Linked DNA regions of Homo sapiens: all the other regions are linked to region 5. Evidence: promoter capture Hi-C in human tissues and cell types (Jung and others, 2019). All regions are on one chromosome and are shown on one strand. The core of a region is centred on a gene start or on the middle of the fragment in contact, and the rest is flanking DNA. Distances in the headings are between cores, read along the strand shown.

Evidence for each region. Contacts are between HindIII fragments. The study calls those that stand out against the background at their distance.
Region 1: a fragment that was not itself captured here is called in contact with the fragment with the promoter of SSTR1 in region 5 in 1 of the 25 tissues and cell types used here (mesendoderm cells).
Region 2: a fragment that was not itself captured here is called in contact with the fragment with the promoter of SSTR1 in region 5 in 1 of the 25 tissues and cell types used here (H1 embryonic stem cells).
Region 3: a contact is called between a fragment that was not itself captured here and the fragment with the promoter of SSTR1 in region 5, in 2 of the 25 tissues and cell types used here (mesenchymal stem cells and mesendoderm cells).
Region 4: a fragment that was not itself captured here is called in contact with the fragment with the promoter of SSTR1 in region 5 in 1 of the 25 tissues and cell types used here (mesendoderm cells).
Region 6: a fragment that was not itself captured here is called in contact with the fragment with the promoter of SSTR1 in region 5 in 1 of the 25 tissues and cell types used here (mesenchymal stem cells).

Annotation. Positions count from the first base shown.
Region 1 is chr14:37,699,961-37,702,863 of GRCh38, forward strand. It overlaps TTC6 (tetratricopeptide repeat domain 6), which reads left to right. Exons shown (of 33, transcript NM_001310135.5): 7 at 1,372-1,566. Among named protein-coding and RNA genes, the nearest start is that of TTC6, 110 kb to the left of the region's middle. The HindIII fragment of the contact is 5,282 bases long and covers 1-2,903 here.
Region 2 is chr14:37,885,670-37,888,521 of GRCh38, forward strand. No RefSeq gene overlaps it. Among named protein-coding and RNA genes, the nearest start is that of LINC00517, 15 kb to the right of the region's middle. The HindIII fragment of the contact is 7,378 bases long and covers 1-2,852 here.
Region 3 is chr14:38,532,102-38,534,914 of GRCh38, forward strand. No RefSeq gene overlaps it. Among named protein-coding and RNA genes, the nearest start is that of CLEC14A, 280 kb to the left of the region's middle. The HindIII fragment of the contact is 4,397 bases long and covers 1-2,813 here.
Region 4 is chr14:38,512,219-38,514,918 of GRCh38, forward strand. No RefSeq gene overlaps it. Among named protein-coding and RNA genes, the nearest start is that of CLEC14A, 260 kb to the left of the region's middle. The HindIII fragment of the contact is 4,676 bases long and covers 1-2,700 here.
Region 5 is chr14:38,206,572-38,209,349 of GRCh38, forward strand. SSTR1 (somatostatin receptor 1) reads left to right here and starts at 1,333. Exons shown (of 3, transcript NM_001049.3): 1 at 1,333-1,533; 2 at 1,872-2,038; 3 at 2,475-2,778. It overlaps LOC124903303 (a long non-coding RNA gene), which reads right to left and starts at 2,716. Exons shown (of 2, transcript XR_007064117.1): 1 at 2,511-2,716; 2 at 644-1,705. RefSeq lists an enhancer at 1,135-1,796. The HindIII fragment of the contact is 11,122 bases long and covers 335-2,778 here.
Region 6 is chr14:38,580,131-38,582,906 of GRCh38, forward strand. No RefSeq gene overlaps it. Among named protein-coding and RNA genes, the nearest start is that of CLEC14A, 330 kb to the left of the region's middle. The HindIII fragment of the contact is 5,097 bases long and covers 1-2,776 here.

The DNA.
Region 1 (2,903 bases), core at 265-2,764, 510 kb before region 5:
TCATATTATGATGAATTTGAGAGGTAGATGGAAATCTGGGATATTGCAGCTTTAAAGGCCCATGAAGGAAGAGCAATTTCAACAAGTTATTCATATTCTCAGCTGTGTTTTGGGGGTCAGAAGAGAACATGACCTAAAGATCTAAAGCTGATTGGATTGGATTTGATTTGATGAAAAGAAGGTCATTTGGTTGTATAAGCTTTAGTAGGAAGGTAGGGATGGAGTACTTCTGGAGAAGGGCCACTTCCACCCAGAAGTCACTAATAGGCAAGAAATGTGGCCAATAGCCAGTAATGTTGTGTTTGGATGCCAGGGCTTACCCACTAATTTTGTGACCTACCCAAAATAAGGATAATTATACCTCCAATACAGCTTCGTTGTGGGAATTAGAGAAAATGTGTGTAGAGGACCTAGCACAGAATCTGGCATATAGTAGGTGCTCAATAATTATTTGTTGATTGGATTACAGGTGGCACTGGGGATTAAGAAAGGAGATTTTTGGCTAGGCGCAGTGGCTCACGCCTGTAATCCCAGCACTTTGGGAGGCCAAGGCAGGCAGATTACTTGAGGTCAGGAGTCTGAGACCAGCCTTGCCAACATTGGGAAACCCCATCTCTACTAAAACCACAAACATTAGCTGGGCGTGGTGGTACGGGCCTGTAGTCCCAGCTACTCAGGAGGCTGAGGCAGGAGAATCACTTGAACCTGGGAGGCGGCGGTTGCAGTGAGCCAAGATTGTGCTACTGCATCCCAGCCTGAGACTGGGTGACAGAGTGAGACTCCATCTCACAAAAAAAAAAAAAAAAAAAAAAAAGCAGATTTTCATGTCATCCTCTCTACTTAGGAAAGACAGAAGAGAGATACAAGTCCAAGCAGAGTGGGAAAGGAGATGCCACACTGACTCAGAGAAACCCAGAGTTCTATCAATGCTAGTTAATGGATAATGCCCTACCTATATTGTTCCACTTCTTTAGGGACATTAGCATTTGACCAGAGTAGCAAAGGAGTAATACATGATGGCTGGATATGGTGTCCACAGACTGAGTTTCAGAATTCAGGAGAGAAGAGGTTGGGGTGGGATGATAAAGAGTTTGTTTTTAGACTTGTTGATCCTGAGATGCCTGTAGACTGTTGTCTGTAGAGGTGTAGGTTGAGCTATTCAGCAGGCAGTTGGATACAAGTTTAAAGCTCTGGACAATGGCCTGAGATTGTGATATTAAATTTGTTATATACCATTATTATAGTTTTAAATCAGATCTCCTCCATTTATGTATGTCTTTAGAACCTGAACTAAATTGTCAGTATAAATGTACTTTATATCTAAAGTCCACAAAATGATGAAAGGAGCTCACTTTCTTTTCTCTGTTGCAGAATTCCACAAGACTACTCCATGCCGCACCTTCATGATCTGTGCACCACCATCCCAGCCCAGGAGCTGCCTGTTGACTTGCGCCTGGCTTCTCGAGTGTATCACACTGCTAACAGGAAAGGCCACGATACCCTGCTTGGAAAATTTGGAACCTCTTTCTTAGATGATCGCTTTACAGATGAAGAACAAACAGATAGGTAAGAGTTCCACTGGTAATTTGATTTTAAGCTAAATGTAAACTGTCATATAAATCCTGCCTTTTGAGTTCTAGATTTTAAAGACTTGATTCTGTTCTTGGACACTAAAGAGGAGGGAGCAGTTTTTGTTTTTTTCTGCTGCTTCCTCAGGTATACAGTCTAGGTCTGTGTCTCCATTTCCTGACAATATTAACATGAACCCATTCCCAATTGTAAGGTAACTTTAGTATTCCCAGAGTGTTACATACATGATCTCATTTGTTTGTCATCACAGCTCTGGAGTACAGATGTGGAAATTGAGAGTAATAAAATTTAAGCAATTAGCTACACATAGACAATTTAAAAAATCACAGATTTGACACTTGGACCCAGTCTTTTGAACTAGATTTCACCATCATTGGGTATACTTGGGTCCAGGGATCACATACAAAAGTCATTGCTCTTGGAGTTTGTTCTCCTTCTCCTTGGGTCTCACCTTCCTTTGGAATCTGCATATTCTTTTGTGGAGAGTATATAATTTATAGCATCCTCAAAAGAAAGGAGAAAAGGGAAGGAACCTAATGTTTATGCAGCAGTAACTATATTCCGAGCAACTGTGCTGTGTGCTTTGCATATGTTTCCTATTTAAATCTTCAACTGTAAGGGAGAAGTTGTAATTTCCATTTTATTCATGAAGAAATTTAGGGTTCGTGATACCAGGTTACTTGCTGAAGTTCTTATCTCTTGATAGTGATAGAATCCAGGTTTGTCTAACTCAGTTTTTCTCAGCCTTTTCATTATCACCCACTTAAAGAGAATTTTAAGGCTTTTTTTCTTCTAATCGCCCCTCCTGATTAAATTTTAATATGCCAGATATACTGTATATCTGTTTATATACTATATGAATGTATGTGCTTTATAAATAAAAAGAGCAAACTTTAATCACACTGTGCTCCCCCGACCCAAAGCACCAATTTTTACCTCCTGGGAGGGATATCACCTGCCCATTGAGAATGCTTGCTCTACAGTCTCTCGCCTTTCAGAAGCCATGGTAAAAATACTGAAAAATGTACTGCATGTTTTAAGACAATTACAAATGTTAAATATTAAGTTAAATGGAAACTTTTTTAGTATTATAATTTAACTATCCTAGGTATATGAGAATACTATTCTAAAAGATCACTTTTAATGACACTATCACAAGATTATTAGTACCCATACTTTTCATGGTATATTTTGAATGCATTTTCTCAAACTTGACTTCTAGTAAAAATTGCAATGCTAGTGCATCCTTTCATGAATTAAAAATTACCTGGTTTCCCAGTGATTAGCAATCACAATTGGTTTCTATTTGAATC
Region 2 (2,852 bases), core at 23-2,522, 320 kb before region 5:
TTTACTGAGGTCCCTAATTTCATTTTCATTTATTGATTTGTGTGTTCTCTCTCTTTCTTTTTTTTGCTTAGCCTGGCTAGAGGCTTATTGATTTTTATTGATCTTTTCAAAGAACCAGCTTTTGGTTTTACTGATATTTTTCTATTGATTTCCTGCTTTCAATTTTATTGATTTCTAGTAATAATAATAATAATAATTTTCTTCTGCTTATTTTGGATTTAGTTTGTTTTTCTTTTTCTAGTTTTCTTATGTGGAGACTTAGATCATTGACTTTACATATTTCTTCTTTTCTAATGTAATCATTCAATGCTAATATAATCATTCAATGCTACAAATTTCTCTCTACACAGTGCTTTCACTGAATCCCCCCAGTTTTTTAAATTGTATTTTCTATTTTATTTAGCTTAAAATATTTTGTTTATTTTTTCTTTTTTTGACAGAGTCTCACTCTGTTGTCCAGGCTGGAGTGCAGTGGCATGATCTTGGCTCACTGCAACCTTTACCTCCTGGGGTTAAGCAATTCTCCTGCCTCAGCCTCCTGAGTAGCTGGGACTACAGGCACGCACCACTACACCTGGCTAATTTTTGTATTTTTGGTAGAGACAGGGTTTCATCATGTTCGCCAGGCTGGTCTTGAACTTCTGGCCTCAAGTAATCCACCTGCCTTGGCCTCCCAAAGTGTTGGGATTACAGGTGTGAGCCACTGTGCCCAGCCAAAATATTTTAAAATTTTTATTAAGATTTTTTCTTTGACCCATATTATTTAGAAGTGTGTTGTTTAATCTTCAAGTATTTTTAGATTTTCTAGACATTCTTCTGTTATTGATTTCTAGTTTAATTCCATTGTGGTTTGAGGTATTATATGATTCTATTATATTAAATTTGCTAAGGTTTGTTTTATGGCCCCAAATGTAATCTATCTTTTGGATGCTTCTCGTGAACTTGAAGAATGTATATTCTGCTACTGTTGGATGAAATAGTCTATAGATGTCTGCTATATCCAGTTAATTGATGATGCTAGTGAGTTCAACTATGTTCTTACTGGCTTTCTGCCTGTTGGACCTATCCATTTTTGATAGAGGGATATTAAAGTCTGCAACTATAATAGTGGATTAATCTATTTATCCTTGCAGTTCTGTCAGTTTTTGCCTCATGTATTTTGATGCTTTGTTGTTGGGTGCATACACATTAAAGATTGTTATGTCTTCTTGAGAGTATTGACCCTTTTTTTAAATCATTATATAATGTTCTTCTTTATTCCTGATAACTTGTTTGCTCTGAAATCTGCTCTGTCTGAAATAAATATCGTTACTACATTTTTCTTTTGATTAGTAAGATCATGGTATATCTTTTTCCATTCGTTTAATCTATATGTGTCTTTATATTTAAAGGGGATTTCAGCTGGACAACAAATAGTTCATATAGTTGGTCCTTGTTTTTTGATTCCTCTGACAATTTTCTTTCTTTCTTTCTTTCTTTTTTTTTAAGAGTCTATTTCTGCCTCTCAGGCTGGAGTGCAGTAGTATAATCACAGCTCACTGTAACCTCTAATTCCTGGGCTCAAGCCATCCTCCTGCCTCAACCTCCCAAGTAGCTAGGACTCCAGGCATGTACTACTATGCTCAGCCAATTTTTAAAGTTTTTTTGTAGAGACAGGGCTTTGGTATGTTACCCAGGCTAGTCTTGAGCTCCTGGTTTCAAGTGATTCTCCCACCACAGCCTCCCAAAGTGCTGGAATTACTGGCATGAGCCATTGCACCTGGCCAACAATCTGTATCTTTTAATTTGTGCATTAGGCCACTGACGTTTATGGTGATGATTGATATAGTTCAATTAACACCTGCTACATTTGTTACTGTTTTCTATTTGTTGCCCTTATTCTTTCTTCCCATTTTTTCCACTTCTTTTATGCATTTTGTGGTTTTAAAGGAGCATTTTATATGATTCAATCTTCTCTCCTTTCTTATCAATTATACTCATTTTTTAAAAGCTTTTTTTTTTTTAAAGTGGGTGCTCTAGAGTTTGCAATACATGTTTACAACTAATTCTACTTCACTTTCAGATAACACTATAACACTTCATGGGTACTGTGAGTACCTTACGATAACAAAGTATTCCTAATTCCTTCCTCAGCCCTGTTTCTTGTGTCTTCACTGCCATTCACTTACACACACACGCGCGCGCGCGCACGCACACACAGACATATATAATCAAATACATTGTTACTGTTATTTTGAACATGTTATTATCTGTTAGATCTATTAAGAATAAAAAAAGTAAATGTTTTTATTTTACCTTTATTTCTTCAGGTACTGGTTGCTGTGAAGGTTTCTGCTCTGCTAAGTTGTGATTCTCTGTATCTGCCTGTCTGTCTCCAGTTTTTGGGGTGGTGGTTTTCCCTGTGACCTCCCTTCTCTGATAGATCTAAGAAGAGTTGTTGATGTTCCTGTTTGTTTAGCTCTTCACTTTTTGGGTTGCAGTGAAGACTTGTTAGCTGCTTACATGCCAGATTAGAAACTGGAAGTCTGTGTATTTTCATAAAAGGGATACAATACATAAAGAGATACAATCTATTGGAATATTATACTGTAAAGTTAGAAAAAAGCTAGAATGAAGCTACCGCTTTCTCTTCTATTTTTGTGATTTTAAGCCAGGAAAAATGAGAGGATCTAATTCCCTTCAGAGAGATTTCTTACTCTCACTGTGGGTAGCTCTGGAGCCCTTCTATATGAATATGTTATCAGTATATTGTAATGTATTCAGTGTCCTCTGGGGGCCTGGCAGTGTGCTGGTACTCTGCACACATTCATGCCAACAAACTTGAAAGGTAGAGATTATTTATCAACATTTTT
Region 3 (2,813 bases), core at 266-2,765, 330 kb after region 5:
TGATTAAATAATTGGTGTATTACACTGTGGTGTCTGGCAAGTTCAAAATCTGCACGACAGACCAGTAGGCTGGACATGCAGGGATGAGTCAATGTTGCAATTCAAGTCTTGAAGGCAATATGCTGGCAGAACTTCCTCTTCCAGAGCAGTCAGGTTTTATTTTTTTTTTTATTAAGGTCTTCAAATGATTGGGTGAGGCCTACTTACATTATGAAGGGTAATCTGCTTTTCTCAAAGTCTACTGATATAAATGTTAATCTCATCTTTAAAAAAAAAAAAGGTTTACAGAAACATCTAGAAGAATGTTTGACCAACCATCTCTTTTCCATGCCTAGCCAAGTTGACACAAAAAATTATTAACCATTACAAGTCTACCCCTCATCAACATGGCACCCTTACATATCTTCTTAAATAATACTAATCTCCAAACAAAGATAATAGCAAGGTAATACCTCCACATGACATGATAAAATTATCCCGCGTTTTCCAGAAAGGCACTAACGCTTTCTGTAGAGGAGGATGTGGAGTACTTGGGTGATATGCTCATTCTGCTAACAGATTCCATTTCTCAGAATAGTGCCCAGGGAAGAGCCTCACTAAAAAAAAAAAAACAGTAATGAAATCATGGCTTCCCATGGAATGTCAATTTATGGCTGCTATTTTAAGAGATCCTTTAATTACTTGTTTTCTGGAGCAGTAGGTTTGCCACATAAAACCATTTTCTTTTATCTGTTGAATGTTCAAACTTAGCTCTAAATTCTGACTCTGATACAAATACTACATATGTGACAGAAAAAAAGAAAACCTCATGAATTAAATTCAGAATGTCTCTTGCATTTTCTTTCTCTCACCATGTGATTTTTTTAGCCCTTTGGGAGAAGGGACAGAAATTTGCATTGCACAGAGTACTTTGTGCAAATAGCATTAACAGTAAGTATAGATAACTGATTTGAGGCTTAAGGAAAAGCTAAACAGTAAATTGTTACAAATAAATTTTCTACCGTAAAGACTGTGGTTTAACTGATATATTTAAGAGCCAGATTCTTGGAAGGAGCTTACCAATGGAAAAGATACAGTGTTAGTAACATTGTAAACTATTGACCTCAATCTTTCCTTCTGCACTGGTTCACAAATGCTTTGCCATATAGGATTTTTAATGATATCCAGTTCTCCCGCCTGGTAAACATAAGATCAAATCTTGCTTTACAAAGAGTATTTGGATACGCTCTATCCTTGCAGATAATATGTGCTGATCACATTTGTGGAGTGAATATAAGAAATAAAGAAATTAAAAGTGTTCCTAAGGGGAACATCACACACGAGGGCCTGCTGGGGGGTGGGGGACTACGGGAGGAATACCATTAGGAGAAATACCTAATGTAGATCAAGGGTTGATGGGTGCAGCAAACCACCATGGCACGTGTATACCTATGTAACAAACCTGCACATTCTGCACATGTATCCCAGAATTTAAAGTATAACAACAACAAAAACCTAGATTAAAGAAAAAAAAGTTTCCCTAAACTCTTGTTATTAACAAACAAAATCTCACACCAAAAGTAAAGCTAGAGACTAGAAGAGAAACTACAAGCTGCTTAATCTCAAAGCTGGGGTAACGTAAGTAAAGTGCATTCAGGTCGAAGCCTGGAGGAGAGATGACCTGAAGCTTGGTAAGTTCTTCAAACCTGTAGCAGCAATAATATCATCCCATGCTTTCATCCTATGCCTGTCCAATGGGTACAATGAACTGTAATGGTGAGATACTCCTGAGATGGCAGCCTTCAGAAAAGACTTTTTGACACATAAAGCTTGTCGATACTGACCCTTGTTTGTAAGCGTTCTTTAGTAATGTCTGTACTGGAACGAAGAGTGTCCCCTCAAAATTCACGTCCATCCAGAAGCTCAGAATGTGACCTTTGGAAATAGTGTCTTTGTATATGTAACTAGTTATGTTATAGCAAAGTTATACTGGATTACGGTAGACCCTAAATCCAATGACTGATGTCCCTTTAAGAAGACTATGTAAAGACACAGAGAAGAAACCATATGAAGACCAAGGCAGAGACTGGATTGATGCATTGCAAGCTAAGGAATGCCAAGGATTGCCATCCATCACCAGAGGCTAGAAAAAGCAGAGGAAGATTCTTTCCTAGGGCCTTTGGAGGGAGTATGGCTCTACTGAAATCTTCTTTTCAGACTTTCAGCCTCGAGAACTATAGAAGAATAAATTGCTGTATTTTTAAACCATCCAGTTTGCAGTAATTTGGTTATTTATTTATTTATTTATTTATTTATGTTGAGACAGAGTCTCACTCTGTAGCCCAGGTTGGAGTGGAGTGGTGTGATCTCAGCTCACTGCAACCTCCGCCTCTTGGGTTCAAGCAATTCTCATGCCTCAGCCTCCCAAGCAGCTGGTATTACAGGCATGCACCACCACACCTGGCTAATTTTTATATTTTTAGTAGAGATGGGGTTTTGTCATGTTGGCCAGGCTGGTCTCGAACTCCTGACCTCAAGTGATCCACCCACCTCGGCCTCCCAAAGTACTGCGATTACAGGTGTGAGCCACTGTGCCTGGCCCCAGTTCATAGTAATTTGTTACAGCAGCCATAAGAAACTAATTTTAAGTTAATAATAATTTGCAAATGAAATCTATAGTCTCGTGGTTTAAAAAATTATTTATTGGGCTTTTAAGTTATAACAGCAATACAGATTTAATCTAACAAATCAAAATGTAGAAACTGATAAAGCCAAAAGTAAAAGCCATACCTTTATAACACAGATTTTACCCTGAATATTTATATTTTTGACTT
Region 4 (2,700 bases), core at 123-2,622, 310 kb after region 5:
TTTTTCAGACTTCAAGTTTCACTGGGTCCTAACTAGAACAATTTTGAAAGGTTTCTGTTGTCAGAAGTTAAATTAGTTTGTTTGTTGTTTTTTAAGTAGATTAAATTGACTACCACTTGACATTTTTTGGAAAAGAACTCAGAACTTTTCATCCACATTCAAGTCTGATATCTTCTACCCTCTCTTAGAAAATAGATTTAGTACCATCTGGTTTGTTGTAGCAAAATGTTGCAGCAGCATTTGACTCCAAGAAAATAGACTCAGAAATCAGAAATGTGAAAAATGCTTTCATAGTTTCTGTTTCCTTCAATGTAATGAAATCCTAGTGCATACCTTTGTAAATTTAGGTCTAAGACATATGAGTCTATCAAAATGATATCAGGAAGGAAATGGTTTAGTATATTATTGAAGTATCCAAATATTGAGCATTCAGTAGGTATCAAAGAGGCTTTAAACAAAATAATTTACAAAGACAAGTCTTATATCACTTGAATTGCTGATGCCTGGATGGGATATATTTTTTATCTACCCTTAGTTCTCAGTTCTTCTAATCAGCCATAATAATTGAGCTTGATGTCATACATAAAAAAGTAAGAGTACTTTATGGCATTCACAGAAAGGCCTAACCAAAAAAAAAAAGCGTGATACTTAATTCATTTTCTAATTTTCTAATTGATTCTTTATAGAGCCACTTATGGAGACTAATTCCTATTACTTCGAGAGTTTAGGGAAAATGTTTCAATTTTAGTATTTTCTATGTTCTAACAATTTTGTTGGCATGACTAACAATCAACAAATTCAGTTACTGTAGGAAATTGTGGCTAGCACTTTTGACACCACTAATGCAATAAGTTAACAAACTATACATGGCGTGTATCTTTACTGCCTGATCACCAGCTATGACAGCTTTTTAGGTCATCCTTATTTATCCTGCCAGCACACTCATCTTCCAGTAGTTGCACATTACTTTATCCAGCACAGGTACAATGCACCTAGAAGAATTTTTTGACAAAGAGTTTGAGGTCTTCTCAGATTGAATCATTCCCCTGAGAACCTTTTATACCTTCTAACTCTGGTGTCATGTTAATGATAACAGGTGGTGTTGGGCTTATCACTTTTAGTATAAACATGCCTTTTAAGCCTAGCATCGTGCATACCATTTATCTAGAGATCTTCTAGCAACTTGACACTTTTAGCACACCTTTGAGCCAAAAACCCATAAATGCTGGAAAATATTCATCTATATGTATCATTCTTTCTCAAAGATGGCACTACTGGGAATGTCTTCAGTACAATTGAGGGAAAAAAGATAAAGCAAAGTATCCTGTGCTGTGCTGTCTCTTCTTACTTGTAAATCTTCTAAGTGACAAATTTTGTGTTAAGAGTGTGATTCTCAAAGCTGTGAAATGAAGGGGCAGAATTACCTATGCAGAGTAGATGTTTAATAAAAGTTTGCTGGTTAAGTGATGTGATGATATAAGAAAGAGATAAATAAATTGTATTAGTTTCCTAGGGATGCCCCTACTAAGTATCACAAACTGAATAGCTTAAAACACAAGAAATTTATTCTCTCATAGTTCTGGAGGCCAAAAATCCAAAATCAAGTTGTCATCATGGCCATGGTTGCTCTGAGACTCTGGGTAGAATCTCTCCTTGCTTCTTCCCAGCCTCCAGTGATAAACATCAAATCTTGCTATGCCTTGGCTTGCAACTGCATCATTCCAATCTCTTCCTCTGTCATCCTATGGTATATTTCCATCTTCACATGGCATTTTTCCTCTTCCTAGAAGGATATCAGTCATATTGGATTAGAGTCCACTTAATGACCTCTTCTTTACTTGATTACATCTGCAAAGACTCATTTCTAAATGAGGTCACATTCACAGGTACTGGATGTTAGGACTTCAATTTATTTTTTTTCTTGGAGAGGTAGACACAATTCAACCCCTAACACAAGGGCACAGGGATGCACATAGAATAGAAACATTCCTTAGAGCATTTCTGAAAATAACTCTTAATACTGGTATTTTAAATGCTATAATACTTTCTAAGTCCAAACATTCGAGTTGGGTCTCTGAAGTGTTCCTTTTGTTATCCTTATTTCCTTAATTTCTACTTTTTATTTCATTTTTCATACTTTCTTCTGATAATGTTTTCAAATCATCAATATCAATTTAGTTTCCAACTGCTCAAATTTCTGCAACTTATGGATCTTCTGATGACCCATAAGCAACTACTTATTTTTGTGTTCTCTGTTGCAAAGGGGTATCAAGTTACTTAGGCACAAAATGAAAGACCATACCTGTATTCTTGCCTCCATTAAAAATCATCTTGGATATTATATGTAATAAATATTTTCTACTAATCCCAATCCTGATGCTAATGTTAAATGCAAATGCTGTGTAAAAATTGGTAACCCAAATCCTTTATATTGTCCTCACTCTTGAATTTGGTATATGCTGTTGTAACCACCTGGATGATCCAATCACTCCTTGAATAAATATTAATTGAAATTCTAGGCCCAGCATGGTGGCACATGCCTATAATCCTAGCTACTTGAGAGGCTGAGGCAGGAGAATCGCTTGAACCCACGAGGTGGAGGTTGCCCTGAGCTGAGATCACACCACCGCACTCCAGCCTGGCCAACAGAGCTAAGACTCTATCTCAAAAGAAAAAAGAAAGAAATTCTAGCATACCCAA
Region 5 (2,778 bases), core at 83-2,582:
GTATGAGTGTTCTAATTTCTCCACATTCTCACTAACGTTTATTTTTTGTTTTTAAAAATGTTCTTATAGCCATCCTAGTGGGTGAAAAGTGGCATCTCAAAAAAATAAAAATAAAAAGCATTCTCACGTCAGGTCTTAAGTTTTCTTCTTTTGTATATGAGGCCACAAAATTGAGAGAAATTTTCCCTAAGATGAGCTGAAAGTGAATTTAATGAAATTCTGAACAACAGAGCTGTTTTTCACTGACTCCCATCACACACTTCCCAAAGAGCAACCATGATCAAAGCCAAGGCATCTAAATAATGACTGTTGAAATCCAAGCTCCCAGAGGTACAGATAGTCAGGTGTCTTTAGTCAGTGATTGGCAGAGGCATCTAAGGCATTATATGAGGCTTGGCTAGTAAAATGCTCTTCTGGGATTCTGGGACAATACCCACTCTCTTTTCTTTTAACTTAATGAACATTTATTTTCTCTCCATATGTGCTGTATTTGTAAAGGAAAAATAAATATAACTAAACACCAATTGTACATTCCACTTTAAAGAAGGCAATTTGTTCAGGTAAAATAATGGGTTAAAACAGTTTCAGCCGTATGAAATTTCAAATTCCATCCTAGCACATTCCTCATTAATAATTGCACACATTCCTATGAAAGTCTGTCATTTATTTTAGTCTTTGATTGCTATCATCAACACACTACAGAAGTTATTCTTTCCTGTTCAAGACAATTAGTTTTGGGAACTAAAACACATGCAGTATATGTAAGTGATTACCTGGATAAAGCAACAGGGCATTAGGAAATATACTTTTTTGTTTTTAATTTCTGCATCCATTTCTTCATTCTGGACCGGTACAGATAGCCTCCATGAGGAGTTTAGCCTCTCCTTGGAGTAAACTCTACTGAGAGGAGGAAAACTGAGACTTACAGTACAGCGGGCACAGCCTGGTTGAGGAGAAGGAGAAACTAAGGAAAAACTGGAGACAGCAAAGCTTGAAGGAGGCAGAGCACTAAGCTGCTGCGGGTCACTCTTCCTGTGAACAGGCTAGTTTCAAATAAAGGCTTGCAGGGATCTTACCGAGCAAAGCAACGTTTATGAAAAGGAACAGGGAAGTTGCATGGAGTGTGATTCTTCCTTCCACAGGAACAGTTGGAAAGCCAAAGAGACCCTAGAGTAAGAATGGTGGTAAGTCCCAGGGTTCGTTTAAAATCCTGATAACGGAACATACATTCTTTCTTACGGGAAAACCGTTTTGATTCTTAAATGAAGTCAGTGAGCTTCAGGCTTGCCTACATTGATATCTCCTAATGGTTTGGGCACGTGACCCAGAGCCAGCTCACAAATCAAGCCTCAGAAAGAGCTGACATCCTAGCTCTTCCCGGAAAAACTCGAATGTCGCCCTGCCGTTCCTGGGGTTGGTGACAGGTCTGGTCATCGCACGGCGGCAGCTCCTCACCTGGATTTAGAAGAGCTGGCGTCCCCGCCCGCCCAAGCCTTTAAACTCTCGTCTGCCAGAACCCGCCAACTCTCCAGGGTACAAAGTACAGCAGGGACGCGGGTGGAGCCCTTCCAAGCGGCGCAGCCTTATCTTTCCCGAGTGAACACCTAGGTGGATTCCCAACACCGCGCCTGGCACGTTTCTGGAGGGAGTCTCAAGCTCCTCCAGAGCTCCCAGCTGCGCGTCCTCGTTTCTGCAGTCGATATTCCTGTGGGAGACACGGGGGGCTCTGAGCGCTACGAGCTTTATTAAGAGATTTGCGAATGGTTCACTCAGGTCCCTGAACACTCCCAATAGCCTAAGCTGCCTGCTGTGTTATAGCGCAGAAGCCCCTAACGCACGGTGGTTGTCCTTTCTTCTCATAACGCTCGCAGCTTAGGGCCAGTTTCCGCGATTCTAAGAGTAATTGCGTGGGCACCTGTGCTGGGGCCAGGCGCAAAGAAGGGAGTTGGTCTGCGCGAAGATCGTCAACCTGCTAACAGACCGCACATGCACTTTGCACCGACCATCTACGTCTCAGTCTGGAGGTTGCGCACTTTGGGTAAGGAGGGCCCGGAACTTCCCTGGCGGGTCTGAGCTGCAAGGCAAGCGAGGGTGGGAAGAGGGAATTTAGGGTTCTGGACTGCGGGACGGGAGAGAAGCTGGGGTCTCCAGAGAAAAGGGCAGCAATGGAGGGAAACTGAGATGAACTCCAGACATCCATGTTCATGGATCCGTTTGAGTCTTTGCTTTGGGTAGGAGAGGAGTGGAATGAGACAGAATCTATACCTTTGGTTCCCACCCGCCCTCCAGTAAGGCCGAGGAACTCTCTTGGTTCCTCTGAGAGCAAGAGGCAGATGGTGCTGCGAGGGAACCCCGGAAGGAGCCACTAAAGTTGAGCAGAGTGCAGGACTGGGAAGGAAAAAAATGGGGGGCGGGGGGGACAAGCCACCTATGTGCTCTCCTCCCTTTCTCCACCCCACCCCCTTTTTTCGTAGCTGCTGACGCGCTGGTGGTGCCTATTAATCATTTACCAGTCCAGAGCCGCGCCAGTTAATGGCTGTGCCGTGCGGTGCTCCCACATCCTGGCCTCTCCTCTCCACGGTCGCCTGTGCCCGGGCACCCCGGAGCTGCAAACTGCAGAGCCCAGGCAACCGCTGGGCTGTGCGCCCCGCCGGCGCCGGTAGGAGCCGCGCTCCCCGCAGCGGTTGCGCTCTACCCGGAGGCGCTGGGCGGCTGTGGGCTGCAGGCAAGCGGTCGGGTGGGGAGGGAGGGCGCAGGCGGCGGGTGCGCGAGGAGAAA
Region 6 (2,776 bases), core at 117-2,616, 370 kb after region 5:
TGATCTTTGAGAGACAGAAACCCAACAAGGTAAGTGAAAATGTGCCTCAGCTTACTATTTTAAATTCCCAAGCCATGCTGCAGGGAGAAGAAAAGCAGGAAGTACCCAGCAGATCTCCTGAGTTGAGGAAACCAAGGTTGCTAGAATTCTCAGGACAGCATACCAGAGAGGAGAAAACTGTGTAGAACAGGAGTGCCTGAGACCCGCAGAGTTCTCCTCAGGTTTTCAGTTGATTACTGATCAACACATATTCTTTAAGAAATTACCTAAGGCTGAGGAAAGATCCACCCAAAAGAATTAGAGCTAGTGATACTTGGTTTTCCCAGGAGTCCAGGAATAGTGCCTGTTGCCACCAGCCAGACTTGGAAAATTTAAGATTCATAGGGCTTGGATAGAAAACACATAAGAGCCTTGCTTCAGTACTGGGGGATAATTAGCCCTAAACTGAGCACTGCCCTGGTCCGACCCGCCAAAACTTAAAAGTAAGAATATCCACAATAAACAAAAAACTCAGAACTCAGTAAGAAACAAACAACTCAATTAAAAATGGGGAAAAAAGTGAACACACTTCAACAAAAATTATGCAAAGGACAAATAAACATATGAAAAGATACTGAACATCATATGTCATTAAAAAAAATAAATAATTAAAACTCCAATGAGATACTACTTTACATCCACTAGGATTACTAAAATTTAAAAGACTGGCCATACCATTTGTTGCTAAGGATGTGGAAGAACTGGAACTCTCATGCACTACTGGTTGGAATGTAAAACGGTATGATGACTTTGGAAAACAACGTTATTGTTGCTTATAAGTTAAACAGACATCTACCATATAATCCAGATATCTACCAATTTCCTCTAGAGTATTTCCTCAAGTATTTACCTATGATAAAGAATATGCCCAAAGACTTTTGTAGGAATATTCACAGCAGCTTTGTTATATACAAAAACTGGAAGCTTGCAAATGTCTAAGTGGTATATTCTATAATGGAATAATGGAAATATAAACAAGTAACTATGGATACATGCAAAAACACAGATGAATCTCATAATAATATGCCTAGTAACAGCAGCCATATGCCTCCCCACAAAAGTTCACATACTGTATGATCACATTTATATAAAATTATATAGTATGCTAACTAAACTATAGCAACAGAAAGTAATCAGTTGTTACCTGGGCATGGCACAGAAGGAAGACGAGAAGAAGAAGACAGAGTTTATATAAAGGGCATGAGGAAATGTTAAATAAATGGTTATGTTCATTATTGTAATTTTGGTGATAATTTCATAGATGTATACAAAAGTCAAAACTTTTTCAGTTGTATAGATTAAATATGTACAGTTTATATACATCACTTATACATTAAGCCATATGAAAAAGGGGTCACTCCAAGGAAAATTTCATAATTTTCTGTGATATAACAAAGTTCATATTTCATATTTCATACCACACATTTTTTTCTGGTTTTTTCATAAATGAGAAATAATTTTTTCCTGCAAGGCTCTTTTTATACTCCATGATTCTTTCAATGTTTCCAACCTTATGAACAAAATGCTTTCAGTGAATACACAGACTATGTATGTTATTACAGCTATTCCTGCAGCTCATTCTAAGTTTTCATTTGTTTTGTAAGTATATTTGTAAATATATAAATATAAAAATATTTTATCTGAATTATATGCACACTGTAATAGTATTATCATAGTGACCTTAAGTTTTGAAATGAAATACCTTTTCTTATATGAATGAGCTTGACATATCTGACTAGTAATAGGTTGAAAAATCATATACCATATCTTTGCATTGGCTACATAATTAGATGTCTACATAGTATGTATATTCAAAATAGAATCTAGGTTTATTCCCAGCTTTGGCCAGGTAAGCCAAAAATAATTTGGTGCTGATGATATAAAAGTTTAACAAAATTGCAAACAGTCTTAAAAAGCAAATTGAGGTCTATTGAAACAATCCTTCACTATAGAAATCCAATAGCCAGGATTTTCTTTGGAATGCTAATGCAGCTGTTATTCATTGTAGGAATGTAGGACACACATTCAGGGCTGTATTTTTTAATAATAAGCAAGAGGATTTATGTTTCCTGCTGTAATCAGTAAATACAGCAAATCGACATTCTATGTTGAACTTTTTACTCCTCATTTCCACCTTCTTTTGTCTCCTCTTTCCCCCAAAAAGCAAAACATAGAAACAAACAAAAGCAAAACAGCATATAATAATCTCTTTATATTTTCTCAATACTCTTGTGGGGGCCAATGGTCTTGCTAAAGTTGCTGAAAAATCAGACATGAGGACAACTGATTAATAGGAGAAAAGGCATACAAAGTTATTTAACTTGTATCCACAGGAGTCTTCAGAATGAAGACTCAAACCCCAGTGAACACCATCTTGAGGTTATAGAAAGAATGGGGGCCCAGCTGTGCATTGTGGCTCACGTCTGTAATCCCAGTGCTTTGGGAGGCCAAAGCGGGCGGATCACCTGAGGTCAGGAGTTTGAGACCAGCCTGGCCAACCTGGTGAGACTCCATCTCTACTAAAAATACAAAAATTATCCAGGCATGGTGGTGGGCGCCTGTAATCCCAGCTACTCAGAAGGCTGAGACAGGAGAATCGCTTGAACCCAGGAGGCGGAGGTTGCAGTGAGCTGAGATCATGCCACCGCACTCCAGCCTGAGTGACAGAACGAGACTCCATCTCAAAAAAGAAGAGGAGAGAGAGAGGAGAGGGGCGAAAAGAGAGTGGAGAGAGGAC